Regions from separate parts of the Homo sapiens genome. Here regions 1, 3, 4 and 5 are each linked to region 2. The links are contacts of gene promoters, found by promoter capture Hi-C in blood cells and fetal thymus (Javierre and others, 2016). All regions are on one chromosome and are shown on one strand. Each heading gives the region's core, a stretch centred on a gene start or on the middle of the fragment in contact. The rest is flanking DNA. Distances are from core to core; before and after follow the strand shown. Region 1 has its middle 24 kb from the start of ZNF292. Region 2 holds the start of RARS2 (arginyl-tRNA synthetase 2, mitochondrial). Region 3 overlaps LOC101928911 (a long non-coding RNA gene). Region 4 overlaps LOC101928911 (a long non-coding RNA gene). Region 5 holds the start of LOC105377882 (a long non-coding RNA gene).

Region 1 (4,588 bases), core at 1,513-4,012, 460 kb after region 2:
CTCACTAAATAGACCTAAACAAGATTCTTGCTGAAGATAGGCCAGGGTGACTCAACATCACCTGAGGGATGGCAGAAGATGACAACCTGATCGGATAACAAGGGTGATCACATGTCAATAGTGGAGGGTTCTTGCTAAGCTGACTTAGGGTTCTTTGCTAAAACTGGATTTTGGAAGGAAGTACACAGATGGGCCTAAGAGAAGGTTCAGGAGCCTGGCTAAAGCAAGAAATCTTTGTCAATTCCTACCTGAGAGCAAATTAAAAAACCAAAAAACCTCTTCCTGTGCTGGAAGAGGGAGAGAACATTGGAAATAAAACAAAAGAGACCCCTAGAAAAGAGGCCTGCACCTCTCCAAACCAATCCCTGGATAGAGACAGGGATGATTTGATAGACTATTGAGATAAATTTAGGCATCTAAGAGTGTGTGTGTCTAGTGTCCTGCTTTTTGCCAGGAGGCCCTTTGGATCAGATGAGATGTTTAGGGTAGCCTAAACAATAAAGAGACTTCCAGGAAGAAGTTCAGTTGCACACAACTTGTTCTTTCATCCCTAACTCTATTTTAAAAACCGTACATAGCAGATACGTAATTAATGAACTAGAGCTATTTATAAAAATATCAATGAGGCCAGGTGCAGTGGCTCACGCCTGTAATCCCAGTGCTTCAGGAGGCCAAGGCAGGTGGATTACTTGAGGTCAGGAGTTTGAGACCAGCATGGTCAACATGGTGAAACCCTGTCTTTACTAAAAATACAAAAATTAGCCTGGGCCTGGTAGCGGGCACCTGTAATCCCAGCTACTCGGGAGGCTGAGGCAGGAGAATCCCCCCTGAACCCAGCAGGTGGAGGCTGCAGTAAGCTGAGATCGTTCCAGCCTGGGCAACGAGAGCAAAACTCTATCACAAAAAAAAAAAAAAAAAATCAATGAATTAAACAAATATTTATTGAATGTTATGTGTGATCATTTTAGAGAACTACAGAGGGAATAATATGTGGCCCATACAATCAATGTTTTAAGAGTCGTAGAAAGGAAAAATTCAGAGTACAATGAAGTAAGATTCATGGAGAAAGCAGGTCTTGGGTGGGAGGTGGCAACCTATTTAGTAAAAATAAAACAACTCCCCACTCTGAAAAAAAAAAAAAAGGCAGTCAAGGAAAGAATAGGTCTTCAAAAGGATGATCTTTTATTTCTGGAATCCCTTCTAGGCTAAACTCAATCACTAAAGCATGAAAGTATAAAAATGCAAAAGAATTAAAAACCAATAATAAATGACAAGTCTTATTCCTCTTAAGTTGTTCAATCCAGCAATGAGTAAAGAAATGCTCTTTGTTAAGGATTAATTGTGGATGTAGATATACTAAACGACTTCACTTCAGCAGGCAAAAGGGAATTACAGCTTTTTGTTTTTTCTCCTTGGTTAGTCTTCAGGCAGCAATGTTAAAAAACACCAAAATTATTCTGAAAAGTAAATTTCCCTAAAGAATCAAGTGCATTGCTTCTTATGTTAAGGACCAAGTGCTGCAGTTTGAGGGAATTTCTTGGGTGCTAAATTGTGAAATCATGGTGTGTGTGTGTGTGTGTTTGTGTGAGTTTCTTAAGAAAGCCCTTTCACTTATACCTCTTGGCTAAGCTTCTGTTGCTTCATTACTTCCTCCAGGTGCTTTTCTCAGAAAACATAACTATTTCATTACTTACTCTGAAAGGGTATTATGAAGCTGCTATGGAATAACTTGTGTCCCTTCGAAATTCTTATGTGAAGCCCTAACTCTCAGTGTGATAGTATTTGGAATGGAGCTTTGGACAGTAATTAGGTTTAGATGAAGTCATAGGGTTGGGGCCCCATGATGGGATTAGTGCCCTTATAAGAAGAGAGGCCAGATAACTTGCCCTCTTTCTCTCCCTGCCATGTGAGGATACAGCAAGAAGGCATCTTCTGCAAGCTAGAAAAAAGGTTCTTGCCAGAACCCGATCATACCGGCATCCTGATCTTGGATTCCAGCCACCAGAACTTCGAGAAAATGAATTTCTGTTGTTTAAGCCACACAGTCTATGGTATTTTGTTATGGCAGCCCGAGCTGACTAAGAAGCATTGCATTTGCCAGCAAGAGGATGCTTTCTGAATGTCAAGTGATTATTGACTTTTAGTCTACCGGAATGCATTATCATGAACATAAACTACTGTCTTTTACCACTTATATATCATCATGTCAGTGCTGGAGCTGAGTCTAATTACAAAATGCCAGTGGCAAAGAGACACCAATTGTTACTGTTTAAGAGAGTATAACTTAGACAGCAGAACTAGGCACAAATGAAAAAGAAGCCCTTAATGTTAGCTCAGAGATTAGGAAGCCTCACATCTCCCTGTGTAAGGGCCACACTTTTACAATTTGTACATATTACAAACTTTCTGTTTATGATAAACTTTACTTATTACCATATATACAGAGCTCAAGATGTTTTTGCTTGATGCGTATGTCTAGTTGAACAAGTATAAACCTGAAAAGCACTCTAATGCTTATGATTTGAGCTGCAATAGCAGACTCTATAGCAATGCCTTCTTGGAAAGTGTGGTGTAGAGAACCTTCAGAATGTTCAGACTGAATGACTCAATGAATCCCAGATTGGTTCAATGGCTTGAATCAGGTATGAGGGCATGTGTAGGAGAGAAACTGCTTGAGTTATCTAAGCCATTCCTAAGCCAGGAACATAAATTATCAGCCCCACCTTTTGGGGAAAGTCACATTATCTCATAAATTATGGTGACTGTGCTATATATACAGAATCAGGGGATGTCTGCATGAAAGTAATGACTAGAAGCTACTTTTGAAGACTTGTAAGGACAGTAATTTTTCTTCAAGTGCAAGTTCCCTTTATATGAAATTCTGGTATACTTAACCTCATTTCTGATTATGTGTTTTGGTAAGCATGAAAATTTTATTTCTAAAATAGGTTACTGATTGTTTTGGGGGGCAATTAAGAAAAGAGTGCTGTTACAGTGACTCAGGCCTATAATCCCAGCACTTTGGGAGGCCAAGACAGGCAGGTGGCTTGAGCCCAAGGGTTCGAGACCAGCTTGGGCAACATGGCGAAATCCTGTCTCTACAAAAAAATACAAAATGTGGCAGGGCATATTGGCATATGCCTGTAGTCCCAGCTACTCAGGAGACTGAGGCGGGAGGATCACTTGAGCCCAGGGTGGTTGAGGGTTCAGTGAGCCATGATTGCACCACTGCACTCCAAACCGAGTGACAGATGGAGACAGAGTCTCAAAAAGATAAATAAATAGGCTGGGCACAGTGGCTCACATCTGTAATCCCAGCACTTTGGGAGGCTGAGGTGAGCAGATCACATGGGGTCAGGAGTTCGAGACCAGCCTGGCCAACATGGTGAAACCCCGTCTCTACTAAAAATATAAAAATTAGCAGGGAGTGGTGGTGTATGCCTGTAATCCCAGCTACTTGGGAGGCTGAGGCAGGAGAATGGCTTGAACTTGGGAGGCGGAGGTTGCAGTGAGCTCATGCCATTGCACTCCAGACTGGGGGATAAGAGCGAAACTCCATCTCAAAAATAAATAAATAAATAAAATAAAACACAAAATACAAAATAAAAAGAGAGAATTAGAAATAGAAAATAAAAAGAGAGAATTAGAAATAGAAAATAGGAAAATGGCAAAAATATTGATGGCATATTAGGAGAACAAAAGTTTAGAAATTAAGCTAGAGAAAGAAAGATGAAAACAAATCCAACTCTGGGAACCACCCTGCTACATCTGTTAGAAGCAAGGAACTGAGATACCTCTAAAGGGTCAGGTGAACTGGGGACTGCCTTTAGGCCTACAGTGGGATTCTGGGGGCCAATAGTAAACAGTACTGGGTCATAAAAGCAGAAAAGCTTTAAATATTTGAATGAAGAAGCAGGCACACAAAAAGAATAACTTTTAGGATGTCTATTAACCTATAGAAAAGTTAAACAAGTTTACCAGCATTTCCTTGAAACTATAAGGAAAGCAGATTCTAAAAAGTTTCTCATAATCTGGAAATGTAAATGTAAATTAATTTATGGTGCTCGTCATTATCCATTTGAAATGTTTTAAAATCCAGCCTCAACCTCAGCCCTTATCTAATAGATCAAATGCACAGTGAAAGGATGACTGTATTTGACAGATGTTTTCAAATCTGTTCAGTTTCACTATATATATGTTTATTTTATATATATATGATATCCCCGAAAGGAGTTATGATATATGATATATATACCATATATAATATATATGATATACATGATATATGATATACATGATATCATATATGATATACATATATATGATATATACGATATACATATATATGATACATACGATATACATATATATGATACATACGATATACATATATATGATACATACGATATACATATATGATACATACGATATATATATGATACATACGATATACATATATATGATACATACGATATACATCTATATCGTATATATGATATACATATATATGATACATATGATATACCGTATATATGATACATATGATATACATATATGACATATATGATATAGATATATACGACATATA
Region 2 (4,553 bases), core at 1,358-3,857:
GCAATGGCACAATCTTGGCTCACTGTAACCTCTACCTCCCGGGTTCAGGCGATTCTCCTGCCTCAGCCTCCTGAGAGGCTGGGATTACAGGCGCCCACCAACATGCCAGGCTAATTTTGTATTTTAGTACAGATGTGGTTTCACCATGTTGGTCAGGTTGGTCTCGAACTCCTGACCTCAGATGATCCACCCACCTCGGCCTCCCAAAGTGTTGGGATTACAGGCATGAGCCACTGCACACAGCCCTGTGCCTTATATTCTTATATCTGCAACTAGCAGAAGTGTGCGAAATCACATACATATTTAGAAAAATCATGTGATACCATGACAAACCTGTCATTACCTCCTTTCCAAATCCACCTGCAATTCAGTAAAGGAAAAAGGAGCTTCAAAGGAGCAAGACATGAGGAGTGATCAGAAAGGATCTTAATATAGGGCAGTGGTAGTAACATGGTTAACCATTTGGAACTGCTGGTCAAGTGATGGTGTTTGAGATAGAGGAAGGCCAACAGCCAGAAAATTTCACGATGAAAGAGACACTAAAATGTTTTGATATGTTTAAGGACCGGGCGTGGTGGCTCACGCCTGTAATCCTAGCACTTTGGGAGGCCGAGGCTGGCGGATCACTCGAGGTCAGGAGTTCGAGACCCGCCTGGCCAACATGGTGAAACCCTGTCTCTTCTAAAAATACAAAATTAGCTGGGTGTAGTGGGGCATGTCTGTAATCCCAACTGCCCGGGAGGCTGAGGTGGGAGAATAGCTTGAATCGGGGAGGTGGAGGTTGCAGTGAGCCGAGATCGCGCCACTGCACTCCAGCCTGGTAACAGAGCAAGACTCTGTCTCAAGAAAAAAAAGAAAAGAAAAAGAAAAAAAGCTTGCAGTTCCATAAATTCATGAAATAGTTCTTAAAGCTTCTTATTCATGTAAGGTCTCATCCCAATACAGACATTTGTTATAATACCAAAAATGCTTTCCTGAAAAATCTTACTTTCTGCAAGATACATAAAAATAAGAGGTGCTTATGCAATCAACAGGATTAAGGGATAGACCATTCAAAACCTACAGAACATTATAACCAGGACAAAATAAAACCAGTACCATTTCTAATAAAAATACTACCTTTGAATCTCTACTAGCATAACCTTAAACCCCAGGGCTTGTCCTTTTTCCTTGAGATGTAGTCTTTAAAAGCACTGCTTCTCATAAACCGTTTTAATCAAAATAAAAAATCAGATCCATGACATAGCCTTCTTCATCAATCCATTGTTTTAACATAGGGAGAATGTAGCTTCTTCATGTGCATTTTTCAGCTTTCTCAGACAGCTTAACTTCAGGGGCTTCCCGCTGCACTTACAATAGAACTCAAGGTCTTACTTTTTGTGGTCCAGAACAGCGCTGTCCAACAGAACTTTCTGTAATGATAGAAATGTCCTATATCTGCACTATCTAAAATGGTAGCTGCAGCCACATGTGATGATTGAGCACTTGAAATGTGGTTAGTGCAACGGAGAAACTGAATTTTTATTTAATCTTACTTTATTTTAACTCAAATTTAAATAGCCACATGTGGTGAGTGACTAACACATTGGACAATACAGCTCTAGGGCTTATCTTCTTACCAACTACACTATGTCTTGCAATTTCTTGCCATCTAGGTAGCCAACATGAGGAGGTCTATAAGATATCCCACCACACACACCCGCATCCACATTACTTTTTCATTCTCATTTTTCATGACGCTCCCACTCTTTGTCTACTTTCTGATTATGATTTTTAAATTCCTCTAATATGCCATTTTATTTCTATCTTCTGGGCCGAAGAAACATGCTGTTCTCTCTGCCCTCCTCGCCCTAATCCTTAACCTAACTTCTACTCATTTTTCAGGTCTCAGCGAAAGGGTCACTTTCTCCAAAAAGCCTCCGCTAACCCCCGACAACCTATATTAGGTTCTTCCCACTCTTCTGTTGTCTGCCTAGAACTCTTTTCCTTGCTAACACTTAAAATTTGTGATCGTCAGTTTATCTATGTTTACCGACTTTCTTGACTGCAGAAACTGAATCTGTTTTGTTTACCACTGCATCTTGGTACCTAACGGAGTGCTTGGCGCACAGTATTTGTGAGATGGAAAAATGAGAGACTGGGCCACATCATCAGGACATCCGACCTCCACCAACCAGAACTTAAAAATCCTCCTAGCCATACCACAAGGCAGATCCGCGTCCTCGCTCCCCAAGCAAAGTTGGCCTCAACTGATCTGGAGCAAGGACGCCTCAGCTCAGTACGCCGCTCCCTCCCTCCTCTCCAGCCAGGGAAGGGATGCCTACGTAACCTCGGCTTCATCCCTTCTTCAAAGGGGAATGAGGCAGCGGTAGAGCCACAGTGCGCATCGGCCACCACATACCTTAGACATCGAGGACGTAGCCATGGTCTTACTGACTCTGCGTATTCCAGATGCACTCGGGATTTCCCGCGCGCCCTCGCGGCTGCAGGGCAGAGGTTAGTGGCGAGCCACACGGCTCCTTGATTGGCTGGCATCACCCTCCGGGGCGGGTTTCCGGCGCGGGGAGGCGGGTCGTATAAGGAGGTGGGGCGAGGCCGGAACTGGCGGACTGCGGCGCACTTCCGTAGAGGTGGACATGGCGTGCGGCTTTCGCCGCGCTATTGCTTGCCAGGTATGGATCCCGGAGCGCGCAGAGGAGTCCCTGAGGAGCTAGGGACCCCAAAGGCCTTTCACCGCTGCGGGCCAGTCCTCAGTCAGCTGGAGGGTGGGTCCCACGGAATCCTGTTAGTTTCTACCACCTCCTCCCCCTTCTCTGGAGCTGGTGGAGCTTCAGAAGTCCTGTGGAGCGTCGGCTGGGATCAGTTTGTCTCGGTGAAAAGTAAACTTTGAAAGGTACCTGGTGCTTTCTTCTCTCCTTCCCACCCCACAGCTATGAATGCTTTACCTGGGTGGCGGCAAGTCATTAGACCATGATTAGACCCCATAGAAGTTAGTGTTCTTTACACTTTAGTGACATTGATGATGGATCTGGATTGTTCTTCAGAAGGACCTCATTTTAAAGCTGCTTATTTCTCTTGCAGTCACTTAGGCAGCCTACCCTAGAATTGTTTTTGGTAACGCCCAAAGATATAAGAGCTATCTGAGACTCAGTTTTTCTTGGTTCAGGGTCGTATTTGAACAGCTCTGTTGTGAGGAAGGGCTTACAAAATTGCAATATAATTGCTTTGTTTTGTTTTTCCTTTTTGTGGAGAACGGGGTCTCGCCGTATTGCCCAGGCAGGCCTCAAACTCCTGGGCTCAAGCTGTCCTCCCTCCTCTGCTTCCCTAAGAGCCGGGATTACAGGCCTGAGCCACCGCGCTGGGCAAAATTGCAGTATAAATGTGGAATTAATCAAAAAGAATTTTTAAGACTCATTGGCCACCCTTGCAAGGAAACTTTCTATTGTGGTCTTGGCTAACCCATTTCCTTCTGATTAATGGATGTACTAGTGGACGTAATTAGCCTGGTGTATAATTTATCTTGGCTCATTTTTACAGTATTTCTAGACATTTGTGGGGAAATCCCTCTGCCTTGTCTTTATGTTTATAGATGTACTGCCCTGTCCGGTGATAATTCGCCAAATATCACCAACATGACATTTTGTTAAGACAGCTGAATTTATTGCTCACTGGGATAAGGAAGAACACCACTGAGAGCTTTGGTAGTGTATTAAACTGGGAAAGCAAGGTCAGATTTTACTGATGGGTATGGCTTAAGGCTGGTCTTTCAGAGGGAGAGGGTAGGAGGGTGTTGGAGGAAGATGGCTTGATTAGGGTTGGACTCTGATCTGATACAGCGGTTTAAGATTGATAGGAAAAGCAAAGAGTGCAAGAAGCCTTAAGGCATAAACTATTGAGGTTTTCTATTGGAAGAACTAATAGGCCTGGCATGTGGTTCATGCCTATAATCCCAGCACTTTGGGAGGCCAAGGTGGGAGGATGGCTTGAGCCCAGGAGTTCGAGACCAGCGTGGACAACATAGGTAGACCCCGTCTCAACAAAATTTTTTTTAAAAAGTAGCCAGGCATGATGGTGCACCTCTGTAGTCCTAGCTGCTTGAAAGGCTGAGTCTGGAGGATCACTTGGACGGACCCACGAGTTTGAAGCTACAGTGAGCTATGATTGTGCCACTGCACTCCAGGGTGGGTGACAGAGCGAGACCCTGTAAACAAAAAATAAAAATAAAAAACGTGAAAAGCTAATAGATTTCTCATGAAGTTCTTATAATGAATGATTAAGTTATTTGGGCAGAAGTCTTCTAGAACAGTAAAGTTATGCTAATGAAGACAAAAAATAATAAATTCATGTTAATGTAGACAGTAAACCATATCAGGGAAGGTAGTTTTGGACCTTAGTATCTAAGCTGTGTGTAAGGGTGGACGTTTTCCATTCTTAGCCCTTAAGTAAAGATAGTGCCATGATGAGAAACAAATTGTGTTTAGTTTTGCAAAGGCTGTGTTCTTTGTAAAGACTGTAAATTGGACCAGGCATGGTGGCTCACACTTGTAATCCCA
Region 3 (4,671 bases), core at 835-3,334, 270 kb before region 2:
ATGTGGTTTTCTCCTGAATGTTAAAACCAAGGACAGTGTGATAGCAAATCTAAGTACAAAACTCAAAGACAAGTCTAAATCTGTAAGTTTTAAAAATATATTAGGACCAATATTCTTAAGAAAAGATATACCAACTAAAAAGCATAGCAAATAACATACTTCTTAAGGAAACTCTACAGATAGTTTCCAGAACATGCAGTTTCTAAAGTTCACAGTGGTTCTAATGCATCATTTTTAAATAAACTCAAAGTTCACTGAACAATGTATTATTAGAGTGGCTCCCTTTTGGGAGAAATAATAATATATCATTCCATAAGATTACCAAGCAGATACCTGGGGACACCTTCCAAAAGTCAGCATCCTTACCTCAAATTTCATAATCAACTCCATTGGTGGACCACAGTGAACTGACTAGTGTCAGGCCTCTGAGCCCAAACCAAGCCATCGCATCCCCTGTGACTTGCACGTATATGCCCAGATGGCCTGAAGTAACTGAAGAATCACAAAAGAAGTGAAAATGCCCTGCCCTGCCTTAACTGATGACATTCCACCACAAAAGAAGTGTAAATGGCCGGTCCTTGCCTTAACTGATGACATTCCACCACAAAAGAAGTGAAAATGGCTGGTCCTTGCCTTAAGTGATGACATTACCTTGTGAAAGTCCTTTTCCTGGCTCTTCCTGGCTCAAAAAGCTCCCTCACTGAGCACCTTGCAACCCCCACTCCTGCCCACCAGAGAACAAAGCCCCTTTGACTGTAATTTTCCTTTACCTACCCAAATCTTATAAAACGGCCCCACCCCTATCTCCCTTCGCTGACTCTCTTTTCGGACTCAGCCCGCCTGCACCCTGGTGATTAAAAGCTTTATTGCTCACACAAAGCCTGTTTGGTAGTCTCTTCACACGGACGCGCATGAAAACTAGCATCAAGAGGATGTTGGCCATCTGAAAAGCTTGGTATTTTTAAACAGACACAACTAAAAGGAGAAAGGATTGCCTGAGATAGAGAACCTTGGAAATGGTGATGTTAAAGCAACTAACGTTCCAACCTCCTGCCAGCATAGAGTCCCACTGCCTTGACAGTTTCAGGGAAAGGAGGAAGACACATGAGACTGACAATTATAACACATCCTTTAACATTAATTCCTGTGGATACACAAGGACAAATCATCAAACTATCTATTTGACATGACTCAGAGAAGCACTAGGTTCAAATAACCTTGCATGGATCCATGAAGAACAGCCTGAGAGGTAGTTCTTCTACTACAGGGTTGATCTACATGTTATGTAGATAAGGGAGGCAGAATTAGAGCTAATTTCCTCCAGAGATTCAAGTCTAGTCTACATTATATTCTCATTAATTACTTATCAAAATATGGCTTAACACTTAGTCAAAGGCCAGACCGAAGTATAATCGAGCCGAGTGGCTTGATGTCAGTCCAAGCACCATAGAGTATCATTACAGTGAAGACTTGAATTACAATGCACAGCTTAGTCCTTCAGATGACACAAAGTAGGGTGGAGCTGTTTGGCAGTCATGGTATCCTAATTAAAAGCACTTGTAATTTTAAAAATAGGAAAAGATGCTCAACTTCATTAGTCATCAAGGAAGCACAAATTAAAGCACATGTGATGCAATTACATACCACTAGAATGGCTAAAATGAAAAAGACTGACAATACAAAGTGTTGGTGAAGGTGTGGAGCAATAAGCACTCTCAAACTCATGGGGGTTTAAATTGGCCCAACCAGTTTGGAAAAACTGTTTGTCAATATCTAGTAAAGCTGAGCATACACATACCTGATGACTCCACGATCCCATCTCTAGGTCTATACCCAACAGAAATGGGTACGCATGTTCACCAAATCACTTCCACCTTTAGGCTATTGTAAAGAGTGCTGCTATAGATATTCTTCACAGAGTATTCAAAAGTTCGAAAACAGGCAAAACCAATCGATGGTGTCAAGAAGTCAGAATAGTGATACTATTGGGGCAGGGAGAGAATGTTGCTGGTAATATTCTGTTTCTTGATCCAGACATTGGTTACACAGGTCTGCTCACTTTGCCAAAAAAAAATTTTTTTTTTTGAGATGGAGTCTCGCTCTGTTGCCCAGGCTGGAGTGCAGTGGCGCGATCTCGGCTCACTGAAAGCTCCACCTCCCGGGTTCATGCCATTCTCCCACCTCAGCCTCCCATGTAGCTGGAACTACAGGCGCCCACCACCATGCCCGGCTAATTTTTTTGTGTACTTTTAGTAGAGACAAGGTTTCACCATGTTAGCCAGGACGGTCTCGATCTCCTGACCTCATGATCCGCCCACCTTGGCCTCCCAAAGTGCTGGGATTACAGGTGTGAGCCACCATGCCTGGTCCACTTTGCAAAAATTTATTGAGCTGTCTACTTATAATTTGTATACTTATAATAGTATTGTATTCTATATGATATGGCCGAATTTTGTCCCCACAAAATTATATGTTGAAGCCCTAATACCCAATGTGATGGTATTTGGAGCCAGGACCTTTGGGAGATAAATGGGTTTAGATGAGGTCATAAGAATGGGGCTCTCATGATATGATTAGTGTCCTTATAATAAGAGACACCAGGGAGCTTGGTCTCTGTCTTTCTGCCATGTGAGGACACAGCAAAAAGGCGACTGTCTGCAGTCTAGGAAGGAGGTACTCATTGGAACCAAATATGCCAGCACCTTGATTTTGGACTTCCCAGCCTCCAGAGCTATGAGAAATAAATGCCTGTTGTTTAAGCCACATAGTCAAGGGTATTTTGTAAGAGCCCGGCAAAAGGAGGAAGCTAGGCATGTGTGAGGCCACCTTCATCATTTTCTTCCTATAATCAAATTGGACACAGGAAACGATTTCCTTATAAAAAGAGAATTGAAAGAGTCAATATAAGTTCCCCCAAGTTATTCCTCCTTGATTATTTGGGTCTGTCAAGTGAAGTGCTTACAGTTTTAATGGCCAGACAGTGCTTACAACTTTAGCTGTGTTTTGCCTGTGTAAAGACAAGTTTGGTATTCAACGCTAAGACTAACAAAGTTATAGAAAAATGCATAAGTGCAATTTTAACTCTATTAGAGATGCAAACCTTTGGGAACATGGATATGTGCTTTTACCTATTTTAAGTGTGAAAATGGAATGTGATTAAGAACAACCACCCTGTTAGATAATATGCATCTTTAGAAATGGACCTGTGATAAGCTTTTAGTGGTAATTTAGTAACTAGCTATAAATATTGACCATAAAACTTAGTTAGCAGAGCATCTCAGAATGTTTTTATTTATTAATAATGAAAGTTTATAGAGCTCTTTCTGGAATGGTTGTTTGGGCCCAGAATCTAACTTCACACCACTCTTTGGTCTGTGTCTGCCTGAGGCAGTGATTCATCTTAGACATCCTCTGGAGACCCCTCCAACTTCTGTGGTTCTGCAATAAAGAGATAACCTACAAGAAAGAAATCAGCATGCAAAGAAAACATCTTCATTGGAACACTCGTTCTGGTATGGATTCTCCAAATTATCTTTTCCTAGGAATTCGAGACTATTGTTCCTTCTTAAATCGGGAAGAAGAATATTTAGGTATAAATCTCCTACACTTCCTGATCTCCACAACAGAAAAAAGAATCAAACAATTTATCACTCTGATACTGAATCGAGAGTGGTTAAAAGTAGTAAATTAGTAGAGAATCTTATGGCTGTACAGAGCCACAGTAAAATAATCAGCAAGATAAGAAAAGAGAAAGAAAACGAGCAACAGAGAGAGAACCAAGGAGATTCCAGGTAAATAATTCTCATTTTTTTAGGATATTGGCCTGAGGCATTTTTGTGAATTTTAGATAAAGATATTCAGCCTCTGCAGAAACCTTTAATGAAACACCCAACCCAACAATAATGTATTTTCCTGCTGTGGCAGAAGACTGCAATTCCATTTTCCAATGGTCATGATCTATATTTCTGCACAAGAAAGAGGGCCAAGTAAACAGGATTTTTCCATAAGGCAATTAAGGTAGAACATGGATTAGGATGAAAATAAAATGACTCTTTATCTTCTTTTATGTAAATATTTTTCCTAATATACCACCTGCTGGAAGCCCGTGGCAGAATATGATTGCAAGAACACAACTGTGAAGCAATTTTCTGAATTCCTGAGTAATTCAGTCAAAAGTGGGACAGCCCTTGAGTTATCCAAGATGTTATCTCAAGCCACTGCTCTGCCCTACTTTTACAGACATGCCCCAGAAATTTCTATGTATCCATTTTTCTATTCAGTGAGATAAATTCCTTTGGTTTTCTCATTGAGTCTGAAATTTAATCAGTTAACAACCTTTCCACTGCCAAGTCTAAGTCCTCTTGGATCTCCTCACCCTCTCACCTTCATGCTGACCAGCCCCATCAGTCCTGCTGCACACACGTGCACACATGACACACTAAAATATGCCTTTGAATAGGTGCCTCTCCCTGTGGGCAATGCCCTGTTTCCTCCTCTGTGCCTACTCAAATTCTAGGCCTTCAAGACAGAACTCAAACACACCTTCTCCAGGTAACTTTGCTAGATGAAACCCACTCCTCTCTCTCTCTCTCTGTGTGTGTGTGTGTGTGTGTGTGTGTGTGTGTGTGTGTGTCTTTCTCTTTCTCTCTTGGAGACAGAGTGTCACTCTGT
Region 4 (4,959 bases), core at 737-3,236, 320 kb before region 2:
AGAAAAGCTAGAACAGAAAGTGAAAATCCCTGTCTCCCCTCATCAGTATCATCAGTATAGGAAGAGCTTGCTTTGGTGTACAAAGCAAGGAGGAGGTGGCCCTTTTAACTGACAAATGAGACAGAGCCCGCTTTATTTATTTATTTATTTATTTATTTATTTATTTATTTTGTTTTTAGAGAGATAGACATATGTCCATTCTCTATTGAGGAACATACCCCCATCCTTTTATAATTTTCCAAAAGAAATATCAATCTTTGACCATTTGCATTAGCCATTCATTCACCAAAGGGGAGGAGCAGGGGGCAGATTAGAGAAAGTGTCAGGAAGGTTGATTCCAATACACTTGTATTTGGGAAGATATTCCCCTTCCACAAATCACAGCTCAGTGAAATCTGGGGAGGCCAGCAGAGAACAGAAGGATACTTTAAAAGTTCCAATGCAACTGAAGATGCTGTGCGAGATGCCAAAGAAATAGAAAGAGTTCCTGCCTTTGTAGATCAGGACACCAAACTTGCATAAGATTCAACAAGAAAAAAATAAAATAAAAACACAAAATAATAATAAAGTTCAAACTGTATGATATTATCCACTTCCATCAGGTGAACTTCCAAAGATGAAGGGGGAGAAATTGGGAGGAAAAGGGAGGTCACAGAACAACAATCTTCCCTTCCAGGACATTGCTCTCTGCTGGGGAAGCACCTGTAGTGTGAGGTGCCCAGTCTCAGCTCATGGACCAGCATTTGGGTACTCTTTGGGAGCAACCATTGAGCCCCAAGTTTTCTGAAGCAAAGTGATGACAGATAATCAAGCAGTCACTAGTTGGGCTGCTCCTGAGCTTTGGTTTTCTGCAACTCTGGTACCATTGGTGCCTTAGGCTGGCTTGTCAAACACTCCTGCCATCATTCCACCACTCTCATTTACTCTTTCCCTTCTAAAAGCCTTTTCCAACCAAACAAGTGCCTTTTCTGGCCTTGATCATCACCTGACATCTTTTTAACAACTTTGTTGAGGTATAGTTTGCATGCCATAAAATTCACCTGTTTTAAATGTAAAATGTACTGCCTTTTAGTAAATTTACTGAGTTGTGTAACCATCACCATAATCCATATTTAGAACATTTCTAGCACCCCAATAAGATCCCTTATGCCTGCTTTCACCTAACATCTTAATGATATTGTTTGGCAGGTAGCTAAGAGTAAGGCTAAGACACAAAGGGAAGCAGAGGGAGTAGTGAGCCTTAGAAGGCAAAAGAATACCAGAGAGGTGCAGGTGAGAAATGTAGAAGAGATCAAAGGCTTCACATGGCTCACAGCTCTACTGAAGGCTTCAATGATGGAATGCATGCCAGATGTGGCAATCCTTCATCTCCACTCCTCAATGAAAAGCCATAAGAGTGCATGGCCCCACTAAATGCAACATGACTGACAGCAAAGTGTAGACAACCTCTTTTTCAACATGCCCAATATCTAACAATGCCTTGTGCAAAGTTGAAACTTAATGTTTTTTGAATTGAACTGAAATGAGTTGGAGAGATGAAAAGTTGGAAGAGGAAAAATGTCTTCTCATGGACAATTGTCACCCAACATCCTTTCTCACTTCCCAATGCCCCTCCAGTTTCCTTTTTGATAATTACCTCTTTCCATCATGTGTGGTGTTAGAGGGATGATAATTCCTGGAGTGTAGTAAACCATAGAATCAGATTTTCCTTCTTCCCGTCTCAACATATCCAGGGACAAAAAGTTTCATTTTGACACTATAAACCAATGATGCAAAGTCAGAAGGAATGATTAGACATCATCCATGGCCACAGTTGTCCTGGCCCCAGCCAGACTCAACCTGTGTGAAGCAGATGCTATGCTTCCTGCTTCCTGGCCTTCCAGAGGTGCCCTGTTCCTACCTATTTGCAAGCCCAACTGTCCATCCTCCTGCTGATTCTGTGTCCTCCCAGTAATTCCATTTTATTACCTAGAATTGGTTTCTGTTGCTTGCAACTGAGGAATCCTAACCCCTTCATGCCCTTTAATGGCCATGGCATTGATGAGGTGAGAGGTAACAAGAGTCATGGTGTCACTTCCATAAGAGGCATTCAGGGCAAAAATGGGGGTGACTGAAGAAATTATTTCCTGGCAGGAAAGGAAGAGCAGTCAAAGTTGACCCTAAAGTTTTATATTTCAAATGTGTTTCTACCACACAGGGTTTTTGGTCATTTGAACTTTCACCCAGGTGAGCTAAGAAAACTGGTGGCATATTTCTCATAAATGGATCAACAGCGCAGGCTATTTTAAGACCTAACGTGTGAGGATGAGCAATTTTCACATGCTTTTCACTTCACTGAGAGAACAACCAACATGGCTTGTCGAGCAGTTGGTCTCACTGCTCAACCTCACGCACGTGCCGCCTGGGCCGGTGATTCAGTCCCCCCAAAACACTGCTTCCTTCTGAATTGGAGAGCCAAGGTTATGAGTCAGCCCTGCTCAGAGCCAAGACACTTCGATTCAGTGTTATTTTTTGCCTTACCACACAAGGTTCAAAATGTCCAATCTCTTTTCTTTAATGCCAATGCCCCAATAGTTAGGAATCACAGTCCAGAGCTGCTTTATTAAAAATGTTCATTTTCAGAAATCATTGATCCTGAAATCATTGCACTCTTCTGAAATAAAAAATAAATAGAAAGAAAAATCAATCAAGGAAATAGCAAAATGGTAAGCGGTACAATATGACATGTTAATGCTAAATGCCAGCTTCATGGTTCAACGCCCAATTTATTATGTTGAAAGCACTAGGCAGAAGACAGGCATCAAATGAAATGAGGACTGAATAAATGTGCTACTGCATAAAAACTATTTATGAATTTCCATGCTGTTTGTCATTGAATAAAAGCTATAATCATTTGATAGATATACATTTTTGTCAGTGTTACTTCAAACTGATACTTCATCAAATTGCTACAATCCTTTCAGGTGTGAGAATCATAGAGCTTCTTTGACGGAAATCATGACTTAATGCATGAAAGCTGAAAGACCAGCAAAAATTACAGAGCAACAGCCCATTACTAAAGGGCCATGGTATGAGAGACACATAATGCATTTCACTTGGAAGGGATTTCTGAGTTCACCCCTAAGTCCAATCCCTCCACCCAGAGCTGAAGCCTGCCAGTTATAACACAATCCAGATAACATGCAATGGTGTCGTATCACATACTAATGCTATGGTAATTCTCCTAGTATTTCAAAGACTGGGAATCTGAACCAAGAACAGGAATAGATTAGTCAAGTTTATTCAGCTTATGCCTGCATCCTCTCATTGCCCTCTTTAGAATGGAAATACGTCATCATAGTTCAGTTTCCTGAGGTCGCAAAGATAAGACAATATCTACTTTGATTTCAAACAGAATCATCTGTAGATAAAAGAAGGCTCCTCTCTCAAATAAAACAGCTTTTCAAATAGCCTCTCACCACAGTTAGTAATAATTTATGCTTGGTGAACAGGAAAATGTGCTGAATTTATTCATTTTACTGTGTGCTGCCTGTCAAAAGGGCAAGCTGATAAAGACAGAAGTAGGGGTGGGCAATTTATTGGTATTTGCAAATCTGATATAAAAGGTTTTTGTAATTCCTCCTGATTTCAAAAGAAGAAGAAAATTAACTCTGAAAGTGGCAAAACAGAAAATTCCTGTTCTTGTCCATCATATCTGACATTTTACCACGTGGATAATTCTAGAGGCGGGTTTTTCTTTTGTCCTCCAAAATAAATTTTTGCTCCATTTTTGAACCCTAATCAAAAAATTATGCCACAGGAGACACTCTACTTAAGAACCTAGAGTCTAGCCCAGCTTCAAGGGCATAGTCCTACTGTGTCGCATTTTCCTAAACACCTGTAACAGCTGGACAGCTGTTCATTCCCCTCCTCTGCCAACCCAGTCATTTGCTTTAACCAGGACAAGTTTATTTTCAATCTTAATTATTTCTGAATTGAAACTTTATTTTCTTACCTGGTTTCAGGATGTGTTTTAGAGTGTTTTGGGTTTTGAAAATTCACTTTGAAATGGGATATGGTTTTTACGTCCTCTTCTTATGCTGTCTCTCCTCAGGAGTTGTTGAAACTCCTTACATTTAAATTCCTTAGGGGGCACTTGTAGTTTTGTGCCTCATGTAGCAGACAGGGTATCAGGTACAGCTGGAAGTTTGGGGAATTAACTTGACTTGAAGCTCAGATAACCAGAAGTCTTAACTCATATGCTACCCTCTTTTTTCCACCATAAAAGATAATAAAGTCTTTATCATAAATTAAAAGTATAGCATGAAGATTGGGGCATTTTGAAGAGAAGAAAGTTGTTTGAAGTTCAGAATTTAGCAAGTTCATTTTATAGACTTCATGTATGGGTTGCTTTTTGTTTAATAGCACATCACAAAATTCTAGCTGAAAGCCATGAGATAATATAGCTTAATGATACTAAGGTTCATTTATAAAAATTATAATTTAATCATAAAAATACATTTTAGATACAAAAGCTTCTTTCTGAGCTCACATCTCCCATTTATGTCTGAAAGAGCACAGGCAATGCCACCCACTGAGCATTCTTGGTGGTAACTGGTTCTAAACCTCAAATTTCAAAATAATCACACTCAGACACACCACAACCACATCCTGGATCATCAGAAGCCAAGAAAATCCAGTGATGAAAGTTTTTCTTAATCCCACAGGCATCTATGGTGTGGGGAAGAGGACTGTGTTGCTATAGCTACTGATCCCCCCATTTTTGGCTTCTTTGACCTTTCCTCCCCTTGGGGGAGGAAATACTGCTGCAGTAGCCTGTGGAGGCTATGGGGAGAGCAGATCCACCTTCGAGTTCAAGAGAAAGACATTCTCCAGGAAGCCCTCCTCTCCTCACATTTGGCGACAGTTACAAAGCAGAATTGTCTCCTCTTTAAGTGGCCGTCGTGAAGCCCAGAGGCA
Region 5 (4,704 bases), core at 1,375-3,874, 340 kb before region 2:
GCCCAAGTAGAGGCAGTTACTGACACAACGTTGTCTGATGTTCAGGGAGTTGGGGGTGCTGATGATGACAGTGGGGGTCTCCTGGCCTGGCACCTGCTATAGTAGCATCTGGTATCTAGACCTGAAAAAGGGCAACATGACCCAACAAGAGGAAGCTGCCATTATCATAAAGGCACAGTTAGTTTCCCTGGACTACTTTTCTCTATTTTTATTTTCTTGTCAATCTGTGGTTAGATTAAACTCTCCCCTGATGATTGAATGTCATGATCACAGGCAAGAGAAATATTTGATGGTTTGGTTGATTGTGGTATACATGATACAAACCTTGTCTGTCTTTCCAAACTTATTTTGCAATTACTAACAGTCCAGGTGATACTGAGGGAGAATTCTTAGCCCAGTATTTTGCCCTCACTCCTCACCATTAGGGTTTCTATAGTTCCCATATTCACTTTGACGTGTACTTTTCTGAGCCAAGTTAGGGAAGGAAATGTCTTATATTGAAATACAAAGAGACCATTAGGACTTCTGAACCTATTCTCAACCTCAGTCCTTATCTAAAATGAGATCCAACTTAAGGATTTTAAAGCTCAACAACAACAACAAAATCAGGAATAAGTGTTACAAATTCTCCTTCCAGAGTTCATGTTCATTTAAGGCTGCTAAAATGAAGCTATTCTTCATTAATGTTCAGATTTAATCAGATGGACAATGCTCTGGGTTACATAAGTGGTAACAGAAATGTTAAGGAGGGCATTTGGTTGAAAGAACTTTCTTCCTATCTCCTTGTTTCCGCCTTGATTATACACACAGCACCCTGTTGCTTGCTCATTTACACAAGAGGAAGAGTTGCTAATCTGCTCTCCAGCCCTGACCTTCATCGGGTAAGGGCACAGCGTTGAACAGTGATAGGCAGCTGCAAGCACCTGGTCTTCTACTCGCTGTTGCTGACTGAGGAAGGACCAGCCTGCAAGGGCAGGCCTGTGTCTCCTTGTCCGCTTCTTGCTCTATGAACTCTTGTTCTTGTGTGGGAATCAGGATAGTCAGGACCTTCCCTGTTAGGAAGAAGCTCTTTGGCTCCCCTGTGGCCTTCAGCCTAAGCCACATGCTAGGTTTCAAATTAACCAGAGACACTTTTCACAGGGCAAGTGGGGTAGTATTGTTGTAATTGGAAGCTTGCTGAGATGTTAATAAATATGGTTAGTATTCTTCACTTGGCTGCTGATCTTTGCAGATACAATTTTTTCAGAAGGGAGCATGAGTCTTAGGATTTAGACCCCAATTTCTCTACCTTGACTATTTATTAGAATTCTCCTAAAGTGGTTGAATATTTACTAAAAATCACTTTGTGGCCCTTAGATCCTGTGCAATTCTGTCCTCTGCACTCTGAGTAAAATCCATACTCTGCATTATAAAAAGTCTCAGGTATTTTCTACCACTTTAGCTTTAGTCTGGCAAAGACCAAAGGCAGGGATGGTCCATTTCCACTTAGAACTTCACCTGTAGCTGGATGCATTATTCCTAAATGATTTGTGGAAATTTGGGTTTTAGTCTGTGATGAGACTGTAAGAACCTAGTTCATTGCAAAGGCTTCATTTAGATGTTCACCATCTTTGCCAACTTGGAAATGAGGTCTACCCCACCACTGGGAAGTTTCCAGAACATGAAGATCTTAGAGGTGATCTTGTCAACATCCCACCCAACTCAGCCAATAAGCACATATTGAAATTGTGACCAAAAATTTGCCCATTTACACAAGAGGAAGAGAACCTATTTTCCCCAAACTAACATTCCATAGTTTCTTATTACTTACCCCAAGAGACTCCCACAATCTTTAGAATCAAAATGGTGCTTCCTTCTAGGGTAGATCTTTTGTTTTAGTTCTCTCTCTCTTTTATCTAACAGTTTCTCTCCAGTTGATAGGCCTTCATTTATTTGACAGTCAGTGATTAAGCCATTCTTTGTCTTTCTTTTCTCTAGAAAAGATACAGATTCTGTTCATCCTAAGTATGTACAGGGCCTTTAAAAATCACTCTTGTGGGCCGGGCGCAGTGGCTCACACCTGTAATCCCAGCACTTTGGGAGGCCAAGGTGGGTGGATCACCTGAAGTCAGGAGTTCGAGACCAGCCTGGCCAACATGGTGAAACCCTGTCTCTACTAAAAATGCAAAAAATTAGCTGGGTGTGGTGGTGCACCCCTGTAATCCCAACTGCTCAGGAGGTGGAGACAGGAGAATCGCTTGAACCCAGGAGGCGGAGGTTGCAGTGAGCCGAGATTGCACCATTGCAGTCCAGCCTGGGCGACAGAGTGAGACTTTGTCAAAAAAAAAAAAAAAAAAAAGCACTCTTGTGTATTCCTTTTCCCTAAGAGAGCCATATCTAAACTAGTCCAGATCTAAAACAATGCCAACATTTTCTGGGGGTAACTCACCAGGAATGAACACTTCTCAGTGCTAAAAAGCCTTTTCTATTTTCTTGCTCTAGGTAAAGCTCTTTTCCTCTTCTACTCTGGAAACAGGGAGTAACTGAGCATTGTTCTCTGTAAAAATAACCCTTCATATATTATATATATTCTTTTTTCAAAGTGGCTAAATTACCCTCAAAGTATTGCTTTCTATAAAAGCCCCACAGTATATCCAGCTAAAAGAGGAAGGTTAAATAGAATGTGTGAGCATAGTGATTATTTTAACAATTAGAAATTATTCTGATTTATAAATGCCCTTTCCTTATATATGGTTGCAAATGGTCCTTTTTTCCTTCATCTTCCTGTCTTAGCTTCCCCACCATCAAAACCATCATCCCAAAACCTAACTATTCTGCCTAGAGTGTTGATTATCAAGTTAAATTGTTGGTTTTTCCATATAACCTATCTCTCATCCTCCTACTGACTTCACTACAGTGGGTTGTTTGTTTTCCTGAAGACTGGGCCTTGTGCACCTTCGTGTACTTAAGCCATGCAAAGGGAAGAGAACCTACTCCATATATAGTCACTGGTTGGAAACACAAATGAACAGATGAATGAATCAGAAACACCTGCATACAACCTCTAGATTAGTCAAAAATGCCTAAATAACACCACTGGATTGTGTTCAACCCAACCAGATAATAACTATTTTAACAGCTACCAGTGTTAAGCTCCCCAACCAGGCTTGTTGCTTTACCTATGATATGTCCTTCAGCTTACAACCCCCCTGTGAGGTAAGGGGTTAAGGGAGAGGATTAGCAGAGGTTGAAAGACTGACTGTAATGTCCCCATCCTTTAGTGTCACCCTGATCTTGCCCTCCTCCCTGCCTCCCTGTCTTTAATCATTGAGGTCCTGCAGTCCATGAAGATTTCTGTAGTCCTCATGGGCAGCATTCAATCCGCCAACACTGAGGAAATCAGCCAGCTGGCCTTGCACGAAATCCTTCCTCTCCCATCTCTTTGTCCTGGGCCACAGGAGTGTGTAGTCTGGTTCCCATGTGCCACCTGCTGGTCTCCTGAGTCACTGCTTCCGAAGTGCCTGAGTAGTGCCGAGTAGTGGCTGAAGAAAGGGAAGGAGCGGCCTTTTCACAGCATGTGCACGAAGTGACCCAGATGCCTAGACTGGGGTGTGAATTAGTTCATTCTGACTGCACGTCAGCAGTGGAGACTAGGAACCTGAGGCACTGGGGAAAGAGGTCTCTGCCCAAAGCCATAATCTGTGTTTAGGAATTCTTAGTCAAAGCATTCTTTAGGCATGCAATCTGCCGAACATCCAAAAACAAATGTTTAAAACAGAAAACAAAAGTCTCTGTGCTCATATCATAATAAATACGTGTACAAGATGAATGGGTCAGATAAAACAAGAAAGGGTTATTCGGGTATTTGGTAAACCTATGGCAGTCTCTCTGGAATAAAATAAAGAGAGGAGGGAGGCAGGAAGAGAAGGAAGGAAGGAGAGAAAAATATACACCTTCACCAGAAAAATATTGCTTAATGTACATGTAATTATTCCTAAAAACTCTCCAGCTGAAAATGTTCAGGATTTCTTTTTTTTACTTGAACTAGCCTTTTGGAAATTTATACAAAATAATAAAAATCATTGATTACAAGCTTATTAAAAATTAGATGCAGTCACAGAGATATAAGGTGGGTGCTTATAGAGATAGCAGTATTGATTCGCTAGCAACAGCTCTTCGCTCATAGCTATGATCCAATGAGCTTCTCTGGTGGTTTCCCAAGGGTGAATTATGGCCTCAGTCAGTTGGGTTTCTGGGCAAACATTTACATGAATGATTCTGTACAGAGGCTCTCATGTCTCCTCCCATATATTCTTCATCTAGATCACTAAATAACACTTCTGAATTTCCAGAGACATGTACCTTTGCCTTCTGCTTTAAGAGGTCTTTATTTCAGCTGGGTGTGGTGGTTCATGTCTGTAATCCCAGCACTTTGGGAGGCTGAGGCGGGCGGATCACGAGGTCAGGAGATCGAGACAATCCTGGCCAACGTGGTGAAACCCTGTCTCTACTAAAAATACAAAAATTAGCTGGGCGTGGTGGCACATGCCTATAATCCCAGCTACTTGGGAGGCTGAGGCAGGAGAATCGCTTGAACCAGGAAGTCAGAGGTTGCAGTGAGCCCAGATCGTGCCACTGCACTCCAGCCTGGTGACAGAGCGAGACTCTGTCTCAAAAAAAAAAAAGTCTTTATTTCTCACACACGTTACCTTTGTGTAAAATAGT

Evidence for each region. The method cuts DNA at HindIII sites, captures the fragments that hold promoters and counts their contacts. A CHiCAGO score of 5 or more calls a contact.
Region 1: a contact is called between a fragment that was not itself captured here and the fragment with the promoter of RARS2 in region 2, in 2 of 17 cell types (total CD8 T cells and naive B cells). The highest score is 6.6, in total CD8 T cells.
Region 3: a contact is called between a fragment that was not itself captured here and the fragment with the promoter of RARS2 in region 2, in 1 of 17 cell types (neutrophils). The highest score is 5.2, in neutrophils.
Region 4: a fragment that was not itself captured here is called in contact with the fragment with the promoter of RARS2 in region 2 in 1 of 17 cell types (neutrophils); the score reaches 6.3 in neutrophils.
Region 5: a contact is called between a fragment that was not itself captured here and the fragment with the promoter of RARS2 in region 2, in 1 of 17 cell types (neutrophils). The highest score is 5.3, in neutrophils.

The regions. Positions count from the first base shown.
Region 1 is chr6:87,128,871-87,133,458 of GRCh38, reverse strand. No RefSeq gene overlaps it. Among named protein-coding and RNA genes, the nearest start is that of ZNF292, 24 kb to the left of the region's middle. The HindIII fragment of the contact is 2,261 bases long and covers 1,632-3,892 here.
Region 2 is chr6:87,588,041-87,592,593 of GRCh38, reverse strand. RARS2 (arginyl-tRNA synthetase 2, mitochondrial) reads left to right here and starts at 2,607. Exons shown (of 20, transcript NM_020320.5): 1 at 2,607-2,672. The coding sequence starts at 2,637. It overlaps ORC3 (origin recognition complex subunit 3), which reads right to left and starts at 2,459. Exons shown (of 20, transcript NM_012381.4): 1 at 2,402-2,459. The coding sequence starts at 2,425. RefSeq lists enhancers at 141-641, 642-1,142, 2,523-2,752, 2,516-3,477. The HindIII fragment of the contact is 3,839 bases long and covers 914-4,553 here.
Region 3 is chr6:87,858,106-87,862,776 of GRCh38, reverse strand. The region is part of intron 2 of LOC101928911 (a long non-coding RNA gene); the gene reads right to left. Among named protein-coding and RNA genes, the nearest start is that of AKIRIN2, 160 kb to the right of the region's middle. RefSeq lists an enhancer at 276-1,089. The HindIII fragment of the contact is 2,262 bases long and covers 954-3,215 here.
Region 4 is chr6:87,907,476-87,912,434 of GRCh38, reverse strand. It overlaps LOC101928911 (a long non-coding RNA gene), which reads right to left. Exons shown (of 5, transcript NR_110869.1): 3 at 2,521-2,653; 4 at 1,637-1,756; 5 at 704-783. Among named protein-coding and RNA genes, the nearest start is that of SPACA1, 140 kb to the left of the region's middle. RefSeq lists an enhancer at 4,848-4,897. The HindIII fragment of the contact is 5,060 bases long and covers 1-4,516 here.
Region 5 is chr6:87,928,750-87,933,453 of GRCh38, reverse strand. It overlaps LOC105377882 (a long non-coding RNA gene), which reads right to left and starts at 2,013. Exons shown (of 3, transcript XR_001744246.1): 1 at 1,811-2,013. The HindIII fragment of the contact is 2,900 bases long and covers 1,175-4,074 here.